Regions from separate parts of the Homo sapiens genome. Here all the other regions are linked to region 3. Evidence: promoter capture Hi-C in 16 types of primary human blood cells and fetal thymus (Javierre and others, 2016). All regions are on one chromosome and are shown on one strand. Each heading gives the region's core, a stretch centred on a gene start or on the middle of the fragment in contact. The rest is flanking DNA. Distances are from core to core; before and after follow the strand shown.

Evidence for each region. Contacts are between HindIII fragments. The CHiCAGO score rates a contact against its expected background, and 5 or more counts as called.
Region 1: the fragment with the promoter of MALINC1 here is called in contact with the fragment with the promoter of ANKHD1 in region 3 in 7 of 17 cell types (non-activated CD4 T cells, fetal thymus, neutrophils and 4 more); the score reaches 9.3 in non-activated CD4 T cells.
Region 2: the fragment with the promoter of IGIP here is called in contact with the fragment with the promoter of ANKHD1 in region 3 in 1 of 17 cell types (M0 macrophages); the score reaches 5.5 in M0 macrophages.

Annotation. Positions count from the first base shown.
Region 1 is chr5:140,106,665-140,111,198 of GRCh38, forward strand. MALINC1 (mitosis associated long intergenic non-coding RNA 1) reads right to left here and starts at 1,348. Exons shown (of 4, transcript NR_102741.1): 1 at 745-1,348. It overlaps LOC124900193, which reads right to left and starts at 2,605. Exons shown (of 4, transcript XM_047417990.1): 1 at 1,120-2,605. The coding sequence starts at 2,321. The coding sequence ends at 1,395. RefSeq lists enhancers at 448-547, 1,658-2,159 and silencers at 1,078-1,147, 1,178-1,237, 1,248-1,507. The HindIII fragment of the contact is 3,432 bases long and covers 1-2,521 here.
Region 2 is chr5:140,123,378-140,127,767 of GRCh38, forward strand. IGIP (IgA inducing protein) reads left to right here and starts at 2,560. Exons shown (of 1, transcript NM_001007189.2): 1 at 2,560-4,390. PURA (purine rich element binding protein A) reads left to right here. Exons shown (of 1, transcript NM_005859.5): 1 at 1-2,242. The HindIII fragment of the contact is 9,298 bases long and covers 324-4,390 here.
Region 3 is chr5:140,399,938-140,404,602 of GRCh38, forward strand. It overlaps ANKHD1 (ankyrin repeat and KH domain containing 1), which reads left to right and starts at 1,896. Exons shown (of 34, transcript NM_017747.3): 1 at 1,896-2,336. The coding sequence starts at 2,031. ANKHD1-EIF4EBP3 (ANKHD1-EIF4EBP3 readthrough) reads left to right here and starts at 1,896. Exons shown (of 36, transcript NM_020690.6): 1 at 1,896-2,336. The coding sequence starts at 2,031. It overlaps ANKHD1-DT (ANKHD1 divergent transcript), which reads right to left and starts at 1,464. Exons shown (of 2, transcript NR_186045.1): 1 at 1,174-1,464. RefSeq lists enhancers at 490-639, 730-879, 970-1,019, 1,210-2,099. The HindIII fragment of the contact is 10,874 bases long and covers 1-4,665 here.

The DNA of each region.
Region 1 (4,534 bases), core at 98-2,597, 290 kb before region 3:
TGCCTCGCAGGCTCAACTAGATATGCTTCTGGGAAAGATTCTCTAACAAGTGAGTTTAAAAGTCTACCACTGCCTAACAAAGAGGGATTTTGTGGTATATTTGCAAAGTAACTTCAAAACAAAATAGTTAAATAGGTTGAGGCAATGATTAAGTTTTCCTAAATCACAGTTTGACTTCTCGGAGGTCTATTTAAATAATGATAAAGATGATAAATGCAGTTTTTATTTTGCTGCAGTTATTAGCTGATCCACGTTCCATCTACGTATTCAGTGTTGCAGGATGGAGACGTGACAGCGTAGAAAGCGAGCAAAAGCGTTACCGTGCACCAAAAATCTTGTCAAACTTGATACGATTTCAAGAAGACTGTCTTAAAGGACATTTTATAATTTCACATTTAGCCCTTGCATAGCATTTTATGAAAATTAACTTTTACCCTTTCCCCCTCGGCCCAAGGAAGTCGCATTCCCTCAAAGGGGCCCGGCTTCAACATATTACACTGCGTGGGAGGCTGGGCAGCAACCCCACGCTTCCTGTCAAGGATTCCTGGGGCCAGAGCCTGAAAAGTGCTCTAGCCACTCTTCTCTATGCTAATTCTGTCCTTCCGACCCCTCTTGGCGGGTGTCTGAGGGCCAAGGTGAGACTTTCCCCGGAGATGAAAGGCCTATTGCCTCTTCAGAGACCCGGGCGGAGTTGGGGCGGGGGTGCCGCGTGATAGGGTGGTAGCAGAAGTCGCAACGACGCACAGGGCCCTAAGTTGGAGCTGGCGCAGGCCCTTCAGGGTTCTATCCCCGCCAGAGCCTGGCTTCGGCCTTCAGAAGCCAAACGAGTAATAGGTCCTTCTGGGGCGCTGTGGGCGGTGGGTGGAGGAAGTGTGGGCGGAGAGGCCACAGACATCCCCCTCCTCAGACGCGCCCCAAGGCCTGGCCCGCGGAATGTTGACGCGCCAGGAGCCGATAGGGCGCGCTCACGCGCGAGAAGGGGGCGGAAAGAGCGCGCTCGGCGGCCGCCGCGGCGGCAGCTAAAACGGAGGGACGCGAGAGCGAAGGGCGCGAGCCACGGAGTTGGGAGGAGGGGTGGGGAACGCGGAGCGCGCGCTGACGTCGCCTGGAGTCACGCACGGAGCGCCGGGTTACGCGCCGACGTCTGGCTGCCACGACTTGCCGTCTGCGGCGGCGGCGGCGGCGGCGAGCGGATCCCGCAGGGGAAGGAGGAGGAGGAGGGAGAGCCAAGGGGGCTGTGAGTGAGCGGGAGAAGCAGGGTGTGAGCCGGACTTGCCCATGGGAGGGAGAGCGAGCGAGAGCCGAGCCAGCCATCCGAGCCGCCTCCTCCTCCTCCCCTCGGCGTCCCGCCCCCGCCCGCCAGCCCGCCCTCCTTCCTCCTCAGCCCGCAGAGCCTAAGTGAGGCGCAGCTCGGCTAGCGCCGCTGTCCAGGACAGGTGTGCGCGCGCGCGCCCTCCTCCCCTCCCCCCTTCCTCGCGCCTGTCTCGCGCGCGCCCTCCCTCCCGCCAGCCTGCGCCCTCCCTCACCTGCGGCAGGACAGCGCCCGCCCGCCCGGGTAAGCCCCTCGCGACCTTCCCTGCTGCCACTGCCACAGCTCCAGGTGACGCTCGCCCCGTCCCCTTTACTTGCTCTCTCAGCCCAGGAATAATTATAGTACCATTGCAGACATCCCCGCACCCTCCCTCTTGGAGACCCAGGCGGTGCAGCAACGTTCTCTCCCACCCCCCGCAGCGAGAAACGAATGAACCCCCTCCTACTTTCAAAAGAGAACAAAATAACACGCCCCTTAAGAAAAGAGGCGATCCTACCTCCGCAGGCGCTGGAGACCACCAGTGATGCGTTTGCTTAGCAATCCCTGAGCCCCATTTCCCCTGGCCGCCTTCGCCCTGGGGCCTGGGACTGTGCGCTAGACGTGGCTGACACTCCCTGCACGGCAACCCTGGAAGGAGGGAGAGGAAGGAGAGTTCTATAACCCAGGCTTCACTGCCAACCCCTCCTCTGTTCGGTTCCCCCCACCCCACTACCACCAAATGCATACACCCGCCCAGGATGCGTTGTAAAAACAAAACAAAACCAGGAAAAAAAAAAAAAAAACCTTTGGTGCTGACATCGCAGATGAAGCCGGGCCCAAAGATGGGTGGCCCGAACAAGGCATTTTTACTGCCCCACAGCGCTGGGTCAGCTCCACAGCTCCTCTGCCTTTGTCCGAGGGCAAAAGGAACGGATGTGAAGCTGAGGGGTCTTCTCTGTGAGCGGCGGTGGGCCCCGGAGGCGGGCTGTGATGTTTGTAGGGGAAGGCACCCAACCAATATATCTGCCATAAACCTGAACTTGGGTTGGAGAGCCCCCAGAGACTGGCTGGGGTAACTGGTTCGTAGCTGTCTACCCCGGAATAAATGCCACCTTCTTTTCCGCGGTGTCTGCGGGACCCTCTGTTGGGGGTTCTAATTCGTTTTGGCCTGGGCTCCTTACATTTCTGTCCGGCCAGGCGCTTTTGGACAGCTTTTCGCAGCGGTGTCTAAGCTTGTGTTCGGTGTCCTTGGAAGGGAGGTCCCAGAGCTTTACAATAGGCTGGATTTGGTTTGACATCTTTTGGTGGACTGTCAAAGGGGAAAGGAAATTTTTGGATTACTTCAAGATCCCCCACCGCCCCCGCCCAACTGACGTTTGCGAATTGCGGCTTTGGAAATTGGAGTGTTGACTAGAGTGTGGAGAGAGAGTTGCTGATTTCATTGCTTTGAGTACTAGTAAAACCATTTAAGTATCAGCCGGAAGGGAGACAGCTATTGACATTTACATCGGTTCTGTTTGGACCTTTGGGGTACATAAAATGTCGGGTTCTCTGAATTTTTTATCGAATTTAGAATGTCTGCTACATTTATTTAACTTCTGCAAATGCTTAAAATGAAAACATTTTGGAAATGCGAGGATTTTTATCAAGTGGATTGTTCTCTTCATATATTAAATGTTTACTTCATATCTTTAATCCGAAACATTAAAATAGCATTGAAGAGGCATGATTTTCAAGATTAAGTGAGCTATGGAAAAGGAATACGCTTTTAAAGAACGATCTGGGAAATGCTGTTACTATTAGTCATTGTTGTTGTTAAATGTTAAGATTTATTTGAGAGTTTCTCAATTTTTTTGGTAGACAGTCATGAGAAGAAATGGCTAATTCCTCCACTTTGAACATTTACAGTACAACATCCCAGTTAGTTTTAATGATTTGGGTATTGAAGATAGTTGTCTGGTTTAAGACTGGTATTTAATCTAAGTATCACTTGAAAACACAAGCTCTAATGTTCTTTATTTTGGAAATTTGTGATTTTGTAAAATATTAATCAACATATTGTTTCTATTAGGAACTCTATAATCAGAAGGGTTTACTACCCAGAGGTAGACAACCTCTTTCCAAGTCTATTTTATAAATGTGTGTTGATTTTTACTTTATAAAACCAAAACTGAATTAGATTATTTCAGAATCACCTGTAGTCAGGCTGAAGAAAATTAAAGCTTTTTTCTTTTTTGTTCTGCCTAATGTGTATTTCTTTGCGCACAATTTTTTGTTGGTAAGAGTTTGTTAAATACATAGAGACAGTGGGATTAAAAATAAAGCAGTCTCTATTCTCTTTAAAATGTGTCTGTTGTATTAATAATAAAAGGGCTCAAGAAATCTAGAGACATTATGTCTTTGTAAGCATATTGTGAGGAGAAAGGAAATGTTTACTTTTTGATGTTTTTCATTAACATGGATTTTTGCTGCATATTAATTTGCTGTATATTTCGTTTTCCCTTTGTCTTTCCTACATTCTAATGAAATTATACATTTAGTTTTACAACTATTTGTTTTACATTAACAAATTCAAACAGCTGGATACTAGAACAGACTTCATTCACCAAGTTAGTATATTGTTTAGATTATTAACAAATGGTTAGAAGTCTTAAAATCCACTTATTTTCTAATGACTTTTCAGTGTTACAATGCAAATATAACTGTGAAGTTTTATTTAAAGTTTAAACTTTTTGTTTTAAGACTTCTGGAAGTTTATATTCATTTCTCCCAGATTGCCTTTTAAGGCTACTGTACACTATAGCCCAAAGAAAGCTGCCTTTCACCTCCTTAGTCTGAGAAAAAGCCCACACTTAAAGGCTTATTCTGAAATTAACTCTCGTTTCAGTAGTGAAAATATGCTAAAAATCCTATTTATCATTGAATTATTTTGGAAAGGCATTGTTAATCTTGTTTGCTTTTTAGATACACATATAAAGTAGAGAAGCTGGCAAATAAGGGCAAAAGTTTTATACATATATAATGAATAGCATAAAACAAGTACATATTTATGTGGAGAGATCTAGGTCCCAGTAATTTGCTGATTTGACCTTAAAATTCCCAGTTTAAGTGTACAAATGAGATTCAACTTGTGTTCTGTCTGGAAACTTCATCAGTTGCCTCTGCGCTGGGTAACTAAGAAGTCAGTTCTTGGTGGCAGTCACTTTTTCAGAAAAACAGGGCACTTCCAAACTCAAATCATTC
Region 2 (4,390 bases), core at 1,310-3,809, 280 kb before region 3:
CTAAAGTTGCCTGTAAAATTTCTAGTTTTCATTATTTGCACTATTTATCTTTGCACTTGATTTTTTGAAAGTTAAGGCTAGTCACTTTCACTTTTGTTTCTAGTCTTTTCTAATTTCTTGCAGAATTGTGTTTTCAATATTCCACCCAAAGCAAAAATTATATGCAATTAAAAATATTTTATAAGGCCAAGAAAATATTTCTTAATGTTAGCTGTATAAAACAAAAATTTGTTCTGATAAAATTTTTAATATGGGCCTTTATTTGCCAATAAAATCCTTTGTAAATGTGAGCTTTATTAAACTGTTTAAATAGACAAAGTTAAAGCTTAGGATAGGGAATATATATGTATGTGTATATGAAATGATGTCTTCGAGTTTTAACTTCCAGCCTGAGATGGCCTAGATTTGGTGTGTTAGTTTGTTTCACTGAAGTCAGTGAGATAGGAGTCTAGCTGGGTACATGCTTAAAAAGCTGGAAGTGAAGTGGGTGGCAAGTGGCAGCTCCCTCTTTCATGTAGTTTTCCATAATGTTCATATAGTTTCCTTATGGTCTAAGTGTTACAACTGGTTTTCAAGTTGTTATATTGAATATTCCTTTTTGGAATTCAGGGTTGAATCACTTTGAGGGGGAAGGGAAGCAAGGGCAAGAGACTTTATTTTAACCAGATGCGGTCTTATGACCTCAAAGATGTGCTCTAGAAAGAAAATAACAAAAAGTGTACCTGTGAACATATTTTTTGTCTTGGTGATATTATGCAACACAGTGTTCAGAATTGCAAAAAAATTTAAAAATTGATAGTTTTATCAATGGAACAGAGAGATGTGTTTTTGGCTAAAATTATTTTTTGTAAGTTATTTGGTTATTTCATTTTATATTCCCTTTCCCATAGCTTTGTACACACCTCATACTTAAAACCAAGTGAGAGGCCTCTTTTCAGATCTGGTTTATTTTTGGAATGCCTGAGTGTGTTTCCAGATTGGGGGGGGAGAGGTGGTGTTTTACTTTTTGACATGCTCTTAGCATGTTTTGCTAGTCATTCTGGATCTTATGTTTGCAAATTCTGTTGAACATTCAGTGATGTATTTGAAATGAGAAAGTCCTTTATAACATAGTGTGAATGTTTGTGGCCAATTCAATTGTGGAATCTTATGGCTTTGTTTTTACTTTGGGTAGAAGTTTAACTTCCATTGTTCAGATTTTAGGTTTATCTAGTGAAATTGTGCCAGGTAGTTGTCTAAATATGGACCAATTTTGGGAAATGAAGATTAATAAGTGTATATTTGATTCTAGATAATCCTTTACTCAAAATCATAAGTTAAAGATTCACATCATTAAGAGTTATCTAACTTTTATGTTGTCAAATCTTTAAATGTGGATGATATTCAGCATTCTATCTATGAATTTCCTTTAGGAAAAGAGAAAAATTCAGTCTCCAAACCTTTTCTTGGAGACAAAATTTACCACATATCGAAAATGAAAAAAATTTAGAAAGCGATTTGATTATTTTTTAATGGAGTTTAACCAGCTTAATTAATGATTTTTCCAGTTTGAAGCACTTATTTTCCCAATGTGAATAAAGGGAAAAGATCAGCAATTTGTCCCTGGCCTTTTTCGAGGCCATTTTTAGTTTTCTGCCCCCATTTCCCAGTCCTGGTATAAAATGAATTACGGGTATCCCTCTAAGTCCCTATAACCCTTTTTGGGGGTCACAGATATCTTTGATAATCTGATGACAGTGTGATGGATCCTCTACCCAAGAAAAAAAAAATGCCCATCCCTGGATAATTTTGCATACAACTTCAGGGGCATCACACATCTTCTGAAACCCAAGTTAAAGATCTCTGCTCTAAGTAAATTGTAGAGAATTTTAGTGCAAATCGTTGATAAAATTAGGAACCAACTATTGGCTTAAAACCTTTCATATTGGAATTATTGTTAGATGGTGGCCCCTACTAGCAAAATGTGACATTGCAACCAGCTTCGTTAGACATTATAACAACCAGAGAGAAGGGAAAAAAGCAAAGTTCTGAAAGCTATTTATAAGGAGTCAGGGCATCTCTAGACATGGGAGCCTTCCTGGTTCAAGGCAGGGGTCAGGGTGCCTGACAATTTCTAGCAGGGTAGAGTTTGATAAACCACAATGCTCAGGATGCCAAGGGGTTAGCCATTATCTTAACCCCTTCCTCACCAAAAGATTTTAGTTTTGTCTGTTGGGAAACAAGATGTCACTAGGGAAAAAAAGATTTGCCTTACAACTTTGCTGGAACACATCAGTTTGGTGACGTTGGGACACTAGTGTTATTTTTGAGAAGGCGCATAAAACCAAAGTAAATTATTCTCTATGTAGAACATTTATTTACTAGTAACATTTGTTTGCGTGTATTCGCTTTGACAATTTTTACCAGTAAATATTGGTTTTATTTAAAACTGGGAATCCAGTTGATATATAGGATAGTTGATACATCTGTTCTTTCCCCCATGTAAAGCATAGTTAAAAGATTTATGCATACTTTTTACTTTTCTCTCTTAATGCCATGGGGTGGGGAGGGTGGGTGGGGGAAAGATTTTTGAGTCTACAACTGACAAAATGTCTTCTTCAAATTAAAAAAAATTGAGAAGCAGCACTTTAAGTCTAACTCTACACCATTTTATTGCATGTATTAGTTTTATTAATGATTTTTGGTGCATGCCTTTGGGCTTATTCAAAAGTGTACAATAGGAAAGTATATTTCCTTTCTTAGAAAGGAGATGTTTTCTACTTTGCAACATGTGATTACAAAAATCTTCCTCTGTGGGAAGATTAACCATGTATTGAACTACTGAAAAGTATATATTTTTAGATATACAGAAGGAATCTACATGGAGCAGCATTCAGACCTATATAGAAGTCATAGCATTCTGTATAGGACCAAAAAGGAAATAACATTAAACACTTAAACAGACGTTGTTGGGTAGAAATACCTTTAGATCTTGCATTTACTTCCAAAAAGAAAAAATGCCACAGAAGTTTGCTGAAAACTTTTGTCGTTTGAATTTTCTCTGTCAGTGTATTTAGCCCAAATACAACAGCTTTGGGTTAGCACACACATAAGAATCAAAAAAACAAAGCTCACTAAATAAATCAGTCTGGTTTGCCAATCCAGCTTGACTGAAATAAGTAAACCAATCACTTGCAACATGAAAAACTGTCCAACTCCTCTAAGGTTCTGACAAAATAACCTTGGCTGATGTGGGAAGACTCCCACTTTGATTACTGACCTGACAGTGAAGATTCATGCTTGACATGATTTCAGACTTGACAATGTCTGTTTAAGGAGCTATGGTACAGTTTGCTAATTCAATCCCAGATACCTGTTGATTACCTGTGAGATCTAGAGTCCAAAGTAGCCAGCAGCCATATCCCTGAGTGCTCTGTGCCCATCAGATATCTTAAAGTAAGCAGGGTTGGGACAGGTCACAGCTTGGATGATTGACCTCAGGTGCCGTAGACAGCCCCAGATTCAAGAATTGTATCTGCTTTCTTGGCAGTCGTCACTGAACTAATGTCCCATACTGTGTTACTTACTGTAGATGCTCTCTTTTAGAGGAGGCCCAGAGCACACATCCTAATCGCTAGCGGTACTCAGAGAGGGGGTGCTAACTCTGATGCCCTGGCCAAATTCCAGTTTAGGGATGTGGGTCTTCTTCTTGTCATTCTAATTGGAAATGTGCATCACTTCCCATTTTTCTTACTGATCTCAGTGCAAACTACACTAGTCTGTTTCTTTGCCCTGGTCTCAAGTCTCTAAGACGCTGGTGTGTATTATGTGGGCTAAGTTCATGTGTTATCCTAAGGCACAAGAGTTGAGGAATGGGTGAGCTTGGTGTCAGAGCACTGTGTGGTTGGAGGGTGGACTCTTGTGATGCTGTGGGGATGAAATTGGCCCTCTTTTAGCATAAGTTGGGGAGTGTGCACTGGCTGGAGGCTTCCAGAGGCTTCCAGCCATGAGGTGTGAGCTGAAACCAATTTTTCCTCTTTCCTTATAGCATGTTGAGAAAATCTGTTGGGTTTTCAGCAGTCAGGGAAGGCCGGAGTTCTGCTTTAATCTGGGTAACTGAGGCTAATATGAGCAAGACTTTGGTTAATTAACTGGGTTCTCAGATGCCACAGACTCCGTGAGAAGTCACCATTATTTTCAATGGTTGTGATAGAATTTCCCCCAGTAGCCATTATTTTAAGATTATATTGCAGAGTTGCTTTATTTTGAGCTTTTTGTGTATACACAATCCCAAACTGGAAGAAATTTTAAAAAAAGGAATCCTGCTGTGAAAGGTATATATTACTCTAGATTTTTCTTACTGTAAATATTGTAAGATTGTAATACTGTCGATATTTTATTAACCAACAAA
Region 3 (4,665 bases), core at 646-3,145:
CAAGTGATTCTCCTGCCTCAGCCTCCCGAGTAGCTGGGATTACAGGCACGCACCATCACATCTGGCTAATTTTTGTATTTTTAGTATAGACGGGGTTTCGCCATGTTGGCCAGGCTGGTCTAGAACTCCTAACCTCAAATGATCCGCCCACCTAGGCCTCCCAAAGTGCTGGGATTAACAGGCGTGAGTCACCGCGCCGAGCCCAATTTTTGTATTTTTGGTAAAGACGGGATTTCACCATGTTGCCTAGGCTGGGCTCGAACTACTGGGTTCAAATGATCCGCCCGCCTCAACATCCCATAGTGTTGGGATTACAGGCGTGAGCCACGGCGCCCGCTATAGAATCTGAATATTTTTAACCCCCCTCTTTACTGACAAGATAAAGACAGAGATAGAGAGATGCATATAGGGAGGAAGAGATCTCCTTAGAGGAGGGAAGACCACCACAGCTAGCCTTGTTTTGCACCACACAGATCTGATTAGAACTAGAATTAGTTGGGCTGGCAGGACCCAGGGGCGAGCAGAGAGTTCCTGAAGGAAGAGGAGACAATAACTAGCAAAAATGAGTCTTTCCTGTAAGTTTGGGACTTTGCTAAGCGCTATATTATCATCTAATTTATTCATAACAACAACCCAATGAGGAAGGTACTAATATTACTCCCATTTCACAGAGGAGCGAGTTGAAAGTCACAAAAATGAAACAGCAAACGCGCCGAAGTCAGGCAGCAAGTAAGTGGCAGCACCAGAACTCGAAACTGCCTCGGAGCATGCACTCTTCACCACCCCGTTCCACCTTGAGGTCGGATTCCGCACGCCGTTCGCGGCATTCCCACCTTCCTACGTGGGACAGTTCCCGGTACTGAGGCATGGCGCTGTCCAGCCCTCAGGCCCGCAGCCGTCCGCAAGCAGGAGAACGCGGCCCCGCTGGGCGATCCTGCCCGAAGGCGCCCGAACTGCGGCGCGCGGCCGGGTCCTGGCGGGCGGGTCGAGTCTCCCCAAGGCGGCCATCCCAAGCAGCTCCCCGGATGTCCCTCAGACCCGCGCGCTAGGCTCAACTCAGAAAGGCGGGAGGCGCGAAGCGAGATCGGCCTTGCCCCTCGACTGTCCCCTCATCGCTCCCCGTCCTCTATTCCCTCCCAAATAGCCCCCGGCAAATAGGTTACACATCTTCACCTGTCCCAGAGGTGGTGACTGCTCTAGTGACTGACGCTACGCTCCTCCAACCAGGCAATGGCAGGAAGGTGGAGCCTTCCTAAGACTGATGGCTTCCTTTCTCCAATCCCGGTGCAGCTATTCTCCGGCCATAGTCTCGGCGCCCAGCGGAGAGCGACAGGTGGGAGCTGCGTTACTTCGGCGCCTCTTGCATCCTTGACGTAGAAGTTTCACCAAGCGCAGGGTGAAGTCTACTCCAAATTTGACCAATTCTTGCGGGTCATCACTTCAGCAGTCATTTTATTCAGAAGTGGAAATTTCCCGGCCCTTTCCCGTCACCTCAGATGAGGGCGGGATCAATGGTACTCCCACAGGCCAATTGTACCACGCGACGTCCCGCGACAAAGTGACCGACACTTTATGGCGCCAATGAATTCTCCCATTGTTCGGGGTCACTATGACTGACCACAAGGCCAACTAATCCACTTTAAGGTCGTGACGCGATAGTCAGGCGGGTTGGCCAATAGACATAGGAAAAGAGCGGAAGTCAGCTGGTGAAGAGTGGGAGGCGGGTGTTCGCAACCGCCTAGGCCTGCGCGGGTCAACGCAGCTTGGCGGCTGCGAGCCAGCGAGCGGCGCGTGACGAAGAGCCTGAGCGACGGGTCACTTTGGCCAATGATCTGCAGCCGCCAGGGTATTGCAGCCAGTGGCGAGTCGAGGGGGCGGGAGGCAGCAGGTTAGGCAGTGAGAAGTTAGTGGCGCTGCTGGGACGGGGGAAAGGAGACGCTTCTTCCTCTTGCTGCTCTTCTCGTTCCCGAGATCAGCGGCGGCGGTGACCGCGAGTGGGTCGGCACCGTCTCCGGCTCCGGGTGCGAACAATGCTGACTGATAGCGGAGGCGGCGGCACCTCCTTTGAGGAGGACCTGGACTCTGTGGCTCCGCGATCCGCCCCAGCTGGGGCCTCGGAGCCGCCTCCGCCGGGAGGGGTCGGTCTGGGGATCCGCACCGTGAGGCTCTTTGGGGAGGCCGGGCCAGCGTCGGGAGTCGGCAGCAGCGGCGGCGGCGGCAGCGGCAGCGGTACGGGCGGAGGGGACGCGGCGCTGGATTTCAAGTTGGCGGCTGCCGTGCTGAGGACCGGGGGTGGAGGTGGTGCCTCTGGCAGTGACGAGGACGAAGTGTCCGAGGTAAGGCTCCGGGACCCTCGCCTCCCACACATTGTGAGGCGTGAATTCTCTTTGGGTAGGCTCTGGGCCGGGGCCATCCTCCCGCTTCCCTGGTGGAGCCCTTCTGTGACAGCGGTCGGCTCCATGGCGGCGGTGGCCGCGGTGAGGGCCTAGTGAGCCCTCGGCTTACTCTTTAGCTCGAGCGGGACAGGTTCCCGTCACCATTCGTAGACCCACAATAGGGAGTCCTTTGGTCTCTGAGCTTCGCGCGGGAACAGGGACTCCTCAGGCTGCCTCCCGCCCACCCTGCTTTGGAGTTGGGGGTGGGGGGCGGGGTCTTGCCAGAGTCCCTGCCCTTGGTACTGAGAGAGACAAACAGAGACAGAGACAGAGCTGGTGCAAAGATCGTTTCTCTTCTTTGCCTCTCCTCAGAGTTGAGGGATACGTTTATTTGCCTTCTGCCTTGTGTGTGTCTTACCTGTGTGCTTAAGGACGGTTCTTATTCTCCCTCTTCAGTTTGAGACAGGTTTGAGTATTAGGGATCTCTCGGCTTTTACCCTGAAAAATCACGTGACTCCTCCTTCTGGGACCTTTTGTGAAGTTAGACAGGAAAAGGAAGTTCCAGGGCATCCCTGAGCTTCGGAATAGCTGGGTAGCTGAACTCGGAGGTTTTAGGCTTGGAGAAAGTGGGGCAACCTGTGGAAACCTCTTCTTTTTTTTTTTTTTTTTTTTTTTTTTGAGATGGAGTTTCGCTCTTGTTGTCCACGCTAGAATACACGTGATCTCAGCTCACTGCAACCTCCGCCTCCCGGGTTCAAGCGATTCTCCTGCCTCAGCCTCCCGAGTAGCTGGGATTACAGGCGTGCGCCACCACGCCCGACTAATTTTGTATTTTTATTAGATACGGGGTTTCACCATGTTGGTCAGGCTGGTCTCGAACTCCTGACCTCAGGTGATCCGCCCGCCTCGGCCTCCCAAAGTGCTGGGATTACAGGTATGAGCCACCGTGCCCGGCTGGACACCTTCACTCTGCCTTTGCAGTGAAGTCCTTCATTTCTTTAACTCTTCTGTGTGTACTCTAATGTGTACACATTTTTAGGTCTGAGCAACCTGGGATGGTAGGCATTAACTTCTTTTGGGTTCTGGGGAAAAAGGGGCGGGTTTTGTTTTTGTTTTTTGAGATGGAGTTTCGCTCTGTCGCCAGGCTGGAGTGCAGTGGCGCGATCTCGGCACACTGCAACCTCCGCCTCCTGGGTTCAAGCGATTCCCCTGCCTTAGCCTCCTGAGTAGCTGGGACTACAGGCGCGTGCCACCACTCCCGGCTAATATTTTGTATTTTTTAGTAAAGACAGGGTTTCACCATGTCCAGGATGGTCTCGATCTCCTGACCTTGTGATCCCAAGGGGCGGTATTTTATGTGTATACTTTTTTCTGTTGACTGTGGCTTGCGTAGAGTACTGTACCGTGATTGTTTTAAGTGCTCAGAGTATTTCTTCTATTTTGGTTCTGAGGTGCCTGAGTTGTCACCTGTGACCAGTTATTTTAACCTCTGGTCTTGGTGTTAAAGTACAGGAATTTCTCTGTGTGTACTAACAATCCCGGCTCTTGGATTTGAGAGGAATAAGGAGAAATTATTTGTGGGTTACAGACTGCAGTTAGTATACTGTCTTATCATTCTAGGTCTGAACAGGGTTTTATTTAATATTTAAAACCTTAGTACATTCTGACCCTAACATTTTGCTTTGGAAAAAAAAGTGTGTGGGTTATAAGGCGGGTAGTCCCTTGAATGTCTACGTCTTTGAATTTCACGGTAAGGGAAATAACTTCTAAGCCAAGGTGAGAGAAATGTTTTATTTGAGTAGGCAGTTATGGGGAGAGACTCTGGAGTATCCCTGCTCTTGGTCTTGTGGAAGGCTTTATTTTATCCTTTCAGTGAAACGTGAGAGATTAAGCTAGAACACAGTACTTTTTAGCTAGGAAATGAAGTGTGGGGGATATCCTTAGACTAAAGATTAGAGCTTATTTTCTATGAAACTTGTAAATGAGAATCTGAAAGAGTTTGCTTTGGTCTAAATGTGATAGAAAAAGGGGACCTTGATTTTCTTGACCATTTTTACATAATTGTCATGGGTGAGATGAAAGGTCACTCATTTGCCTTTTTTTTTAATTTTAATTTTTTGTTTTTTTTGTTTTTTTTGAGACTGTGTCTTGCTCTTGTCACCCAGGCTGGAGTGCGGTGGCTCGATCTTGGCTCACTGCAACCCCCGTCTCCCAGGTTCAAGCTATTTTCCTGCCTCAGCCTCCCTAGTAACTGGGATTCCAGGTGCCTGCTACCACGACTGGCTAATTT